Regions from separate parts of the Homo sapiens genome. Here region 2 is linked to region 1. The links are contacts of gene promoters, found by promoter capture Hi-C in blood cells and fetal thymus (Javierre and others, 2016). All regions are on one chromosome and are shown on one strand. The core of a region is centred on a gene start or on the middle of the fragment in contact, and the rest is flanking DNA. Distances in the headings are between cores, read along the strand shown.

Region 1 (3,148 bases), core at 441-2,940:
CTTCCAATTATCAGAAGAATGCAGCTTATCTTTATTAAAATGTACCCCCCCAATATTTCATGATATTTACATGTTTGCATAGTACTTTCCTATCCTTTTGTAACATGTTTTGCAACTCCTGAAAAGTCAATAGTCTTAGCTCTTCTCTAAAGGGGGAAACACAAGAGACTGAGTGACTAGTTCAGGGTGACTCACAGGCAGAGTCAACATTGGAACTCGGAACACTGAGCCTGGCATTCCAAGTTCCCAAAACCTTGAGGCTCTTGCTAATCCCAGCAGAATTTTCTTCTTTACAGGGCTGTGCTTCTTTGAGGCCTCTGAGACTAGAATGTTAGTGTCCAAAGCTTTCTCTTTCAAAAGTAGTCAATAGTCAGAAATAAATGTTGGCCTGCAAGTTCAATCTTTTTCTTTTTTTTGAGACAGGGTCTCACTCAGTTGCCCAGGTTGGAGTGCAGTAGCACAATCATGGCTTACTGCAGCCTTGACCTCCTGGGCTCAAGCGATCCTCCTGCTTCAGCCTTCCAAATAGTTGGGACCACAGGCATACCCCACCACACCCAGCTAATTTTTAAAATTTTGTAGACATGATGGTCTCACTTTGTTGCCCAAGTTGGTCTCAAAGTCCTGAGTTCAAGGGATCCTCCCACCTTGGCCTCCCAAAGTGCTGAAATTACAGGTATGAGCCACCGCTTCTAGTCCATCTTCACTTTTTAAAAGGCATAGCTAAACTGCATTGATACAACCTAATGATCTCCCTAATTAATGTAACTTTGCTGGTAATTGTTTTTTTAGAGTCCTCTGTTTAAGATTGGGTTAAATTCAAATCAAATGGTACTGTTTAAACTGTTTGCTGTTTTTTGTGTTTGTTCCCCGTTAGTGCTATCTTGGACATGCTGAGCTTCTAACTGCCACAGGGCTGTTTTGCTACTACTGACCTTATAAAGCCAACAGTTAGTGACTGTGTATATAAGGATTTAAGAGATTATTTTACCAGAATAAGGTTGCTTTGTAGCCATCCGGTGTAAATGGTGTTTCTTTCCATTAACAAATTGAAGAGCTCTTAAGCACCTGAAATTAAATAACAGCTTAAAAAATAAATTAATATACAAAAAATTTAGGTTTACTGACAATATCAGATTATTTCCCATTAAAAAAAATCACCCAACTCTTTTTTCTGATGCCTTTCACGTGGGACTTCAAAAAGCTTTTCCAAATATTTTCACTATCTGTAGTTCTCATTCTAATTTTGTAAATTAAAAAAAAAAAAGAGCCAAATAACTGACCCAAAGTTATGCAGTCAGTTGGTAGTAAAAGCCAAATAAGAGCTCAAATTTAATCTAGTCGTTAGAATCTGCCACAGTGTCCTCTTCGCTAAGTTGTACTACTGCCTCATTTTATTTCCCTTAAAAAATAATTGTTTGCATATCAGTTAAACTGGTCACATTGAAATATAAAACACGCCAGTATTATCAAGAGGTCCTTTCTTAAAGCAACAAAATACAATCACCTTTGTGCTAAAAATAAGCTATAAAAATAATTGTGTACCTTATAAATTTATCTACAAGTTTTAGCCTTCATTATATTCATTAATTAAACTGCCATAAATCTTCCTTTCCTATTGCTAAGATATTCTTAAACTTGCATACAAAGCACCAAAATGCACATCAGCCACAACACACACAAATTCATCACTCAATCTCGGTCCATTACTCTTGCCAAGGTCAGTATAGAATATTCTTGAAATTTTCACTTGTAGAATGAATAGATGTTTTGTAAGGATTATCTATTCAGGCAGAAAAAAAGGGGGGAGGGGAAGAACACAAGAAACAATTAGCTATTCAACTGGTACTGAGCAAATTCCAAGTACGGAATCCTTTGTTTGTTTTTATCTTGTTTTTGTTTTTCTTACCTACCTTGGGACTCCAGTCCACGAGAAGAAATACATCTTGTGAGATTTTTGTACAGCCTTTCTACAAACCTCCGTAGAGAAGGAGACGTTGTTGTCAGTTTTGGCTTCCTTTTGCAGTCAGGGACTGGGACCCAGAGTTATCTATTTGCATTTCAACACCCTTCTTTTGTTTTCGGTCCCACAAGAGGCTCAACCAGTTCAAAAGCAGGTAAGGCAGTTAGATCATTGTAATGACCCTAGAAAACTCAAAGGAGAAAACTTTTGCAAACAATGTGGTTATTTTAGCAAAAAACTACTACTTATTTCATCAGTCAAGCCTACAGAGCTCAAGCTAGACCATCTTGTTAAAAATTTACCTTAGGTTGTTCTTAATTCTCTCTGTGCCCTAGAGAGAGAAGAATGATGGTGGAAAGCAGGGTTAGAGAACAGAGAGGAGGAGAGTTCTGCATCCAGAATCTCTTCTGAATAAACAAATATCGCTAAAATATCCAAATATTCACAGGAATTTACAGGTCACATTATTGCATTTGATTCTGAGAGCAACAGCCTCTGTCATTTCTGCTGAAGGAGCATTCCTATATAACTCTAACAAAATTAAGAGAAAAGAATACTTTCTAGGTGGAGAGAGTTGGAGAGGACGGGTAAAGGTGCAGCCATCCCAGTGTCTGAAGGACACTCAGACACAAATGCTGCTGGTGTATACTTCCTGTCACACCCACTCAGATGACTACATGGTCAAGATTCCAGAATGTGATCCCGACGACAGCTTTCTAAGCATTTAATATTCCAAGAGGCATCAGCAGATAAAAATGTGCAGAGTTGCAAATTTTTAATAGAAAAATCCCCCAGGGTCTATGTTGAAGGTCAGTGTTTGGGAAAAGGCTATATTATAATGGGGCTATGGAGTCACAGATTAGAGACGGAAGGGACCATAAGGTTCATTTCCTCAAGGTCCGTGGTTACACAGCTGGTTTGTGACAGGCTATGAGCTCTCTGGGGTCTCAATCTCACGCTCTTGAGCTTTTGGTTACCAAACCTGCTTAGATGAGATCCACAGTGAGGTTATATTGTAAAAATTCTAAGACTTGGCAAGTCAGCCTATAATGAAGATATATATGCATAGACTTCAAAGGACTGACCTTGTCATCACCTACAATAGCTCTGCCGCAAGATTACTGATTCAGGCATTCAGCTTTTGGATAAGCATCTTTCCTTCCAACTTGCATGACAACAACTCCA
Region 2 (3,148 bases), core at 298-2,797, 690 kb before region 1:
ACAAACTAGCTAATAGACTACTAGAAAGGAGAAGTTTATTAAACCAAGCAATTAGCTCTTTACTTTAAAGGGATTTGATGAGACTAAATGAAGTAAAATATAAGAGGTAACTTAAGTTTTTTTGAAAGGGAAGACAAAGTGTTCAGGGCTATAGGAATAAAGGTACAAAGATTTAATGAATATTTGTCCGGTGCTTTACACTTTATAAGTGGTTTTCACTTACTTTATTGGCTCCTCACAATAGCTGTTAAATAAGCAGGGCAGATACAGAGCTTTCTGTGGTCCCTGAATATGGGTCATCAAAGTAACAATGAAACACATACCTTGCAAGTTTATATAAACCTCGCTGAGTGGTGAGGGGCGGAATGCTGTTGGGGCTGGCCAGCAAGATCTCACTACAGCACAGCGTTAGCAACCATGCACAGGCTGACAAGAATAAGGAGAGAGGAACTGCTGGGCGAGCATGACTCCCAGAAGACAGATGGAGGGGCTATTAGACACAATTAAGCCAAGTCTCAGAGAGGCTAAAATGAGGTATTTAAGACTGTATAGTCTGATGACACACCACTCATTAGTCACCCAGTTTAGTAACAGTCCTTCTAATATGCCATATTTTCTCTTAAACAGTTGTTAAAGCAAGGGACAGGGTGGTTGGTCTTCCTGGGTTGAAGGCTTACTATATGCAAGATGAATTTGAGGTACTGGGCGTACATTACCTCTGTAGTAAAGGTGTGTGGATATTAACTTTTCTTAAAATTTAAATTATATTTTCAGTGTCCTAAAGAAAAAATTCTACCATCAGCTCTCCTGGAAAGCGAGAAATTGGGTTATAAAGCAAATGTTCTACTCCTTATCCCAATTTACCTTCCATAGTCTTAAAGCCAAAACCTCAGGTACTGGTCATATCCTGGCATGAAAAATAATTAGATTGCACTTACATAAAGGAGGTTATGAACTGAGCCTTTTCAGACTCCAAAATGTTCTAGACAAAAGCAAACAAGCTAAGGATTTGTTCCCTATCAAGAAAATTGTTCATCTATATCCCCTCTCATTTCCTCAATATTTTGACCTTACCCCAGCTGGTTAGCCAGCCCCACAATCCATTTAGACTTTAGAACAGAAATAAAATGCATACATACATACTGTAGCTGTAATTCAATTAATCTTCTCCTTGGGTTTCCTCTGCTCTGTGCCAGGGTCATTTGTAAGGCCATCACTCAGTCCAAACTGTTGCACCTGTGCTGCTATTGAAACACCCCTTCCTCCCTTTCACCCCTCCCTCGCCTCTATCCTCCCAGGCACAGTGCCCTAATCACCTTTTTCCCAGGCACAAAAGCTTTCCTTTGCAAGAAGGAATGTCAGAATTCCCCCAAGCATTGGCAAGGAAATATTTAAATGTAATCAGAGGATCTTCCTTTGTTTTCTTTTTTTTTCCTGGGGAAATTAATCTCTCTAAGGTACTGGATGTATTCTTTTGCTCTTCCGTGAGGCAACATCATCATACAGTGCTGAAGTGGTCACAGCTTGCAAAGGCTAAATATTTTCTTCTCCTTTGCTGCTGACATAGATGATACGTGCCTGGTTTCCTCAAGCATCTCTAATTGAATACTTTGCTTCATTTAAATTGTTTTAAACTTGGCTGTGAGAAATGTGTGTATGTATGTCCCATCCCTCCCCCACGTAGAATATGAATGCAGACTGGCAGCTGTGGCTCCCCTAATAGCTGCCCTCTCCCAGCTGTAGTCCCTTCAACTCTATCAAGCTTGAGAAACTTTCCAGTCCAGTTCTCTCCAGTCATTGCCAGACTTTGAGTTTCATATAGTTCCTAGGAGAAAAGCTAGACTCTGTTATATAGCTTTATAAGTTGGAAGAGCTTTTAAAGTCAAACTAGTCTTACTTAAATCTCTGCTCCACCACTTGCAGCTGTGTGAGCTTAGACAAATTACTTGACCTCTCTGAACTTCAGTTTTATTATTTGTGGTAGGACAAAACCAACTGCATAGGGCTGCTGTGAGCATGAAATGGGATTTTATACATATATATATTCTAGTATAATCCCTGGCACATACTTGTTTTAAGCATTTTTTTTATTTTCTATATTTTATGATGTTCTAATATCTCAGAAAGCTTGCTGGCCAGGGAGAGACTTCACCTCCCAGGAGTAGCCAATTCTTATACAAAACAGGGGTCTCCAGGGAGCACCAACCAATCCCGAGTCTACAGCCTCAACCATTTCCTTGTCTAGCTCTCACACATAAAGCCAATATTTCCACACCCCTGAATAACTCTAGGGAACAGATCTATGCAACTAAAGACCACCTCTATGCCCCAAAGCCCCCTAGAATTATTGAAACTGCCAACCTTAAGCTCTTCGCCCTGCCCTGCCTTGCCTTTCCTGCAGAAACCCCAATAAAGGCTCTAGCCTCAGCTTTCCCCTCGCTCCCACTTCTGCTTCCTGGCACTGGAACCTCCTCCATGGTCCTGAGTTGCATGCCTTGCCTCTCATTTCCTGGGGAGCTGTGAGCAGCAGTGAGCCTTTCTTTTAATGGCATTACCTCTCTGTGTCGTCACACAGTCATACCTCTCTCAGTTACACTGCGGGTATAATTTTAGAACAGTATTTAATGAATGTGAACATCTCCCCTTCCCATATTGTCATTTAACGATTCCTGAGTGTCCATAAGTTGTAATTAGATATAGTGGACACAAACACAGAGAATTTCACTCCATTGCTATCAAACCAACAAGATGTAGACAGACCTGAAGGCTTGTTAGGTAAAGCTCTGCGGCAGTGGTTCTCAGGCTTTAGCTGGCATCAGAGTCACCAGGAGAGTTGTGAAAACCCGGATTACTGGACCCAACATCCAGTTTCTGATTCAGGAGGTCTGCGTTGGCCTTCCAGAATTTGGATTTGTAAGAAGTTCCCAGGTGCTATTGCTACTGGCTCAGGGACCATATTTTGAGAACCATAGCTTTAGAGGATGTGAAAATGAGCAGTTTGGGGAAAATAACTGGCGTGATAGGATAAACAAATATCTCAAGTTGAATAGAATCAAAGTTTTGGAGTTTGGGGGAAACATCAACAAAGGAGATCCCTGCTTCACAAAAGGTGCCTAGATTACTTAGGCAGAGTTCCCAGAGTAAAACA

The links. Contacts are between HindIII fragments. The CHiCAGO score rates a contact against its expected background, and 5 or more counts as called.
Region 2: a fragment that was not itself captured here is called in contact with the fragment with the promoter of LINC00862 in region 1 in 1 of 17 cell types (naive B cells); the score reaches 6.5 in naive B cells.

The regions. Positions count from the first base shown.
Region 1 is chr1:200,372,102-200,375,249 of GRCh38, forward strand. LINC00862 (long intergenic non-protein coding RNA 862) reads right to left here and starts at 1,691. Exons shown (of 5, transcript NR_040064.1): 1 at 1,546-1,691; 2 at 992-1,068. RefSeq lists enhancers at 45-575, 1,972-3,148. The HindIII fragment of the contact is 2,511 bases long and covers 1,203-3,148 here.
Region 2 is chr1:199,687,037-199,690,184 of GRCh38, forward strand. No RefSeq gene overlaps it. Among named protein-coding and RNA genes, the nearest start is that of NR5A2, 340 kb to the right of the region's middle. The HindIII fragment of the contact is 426 bases long and covers 1,335-1,760 here.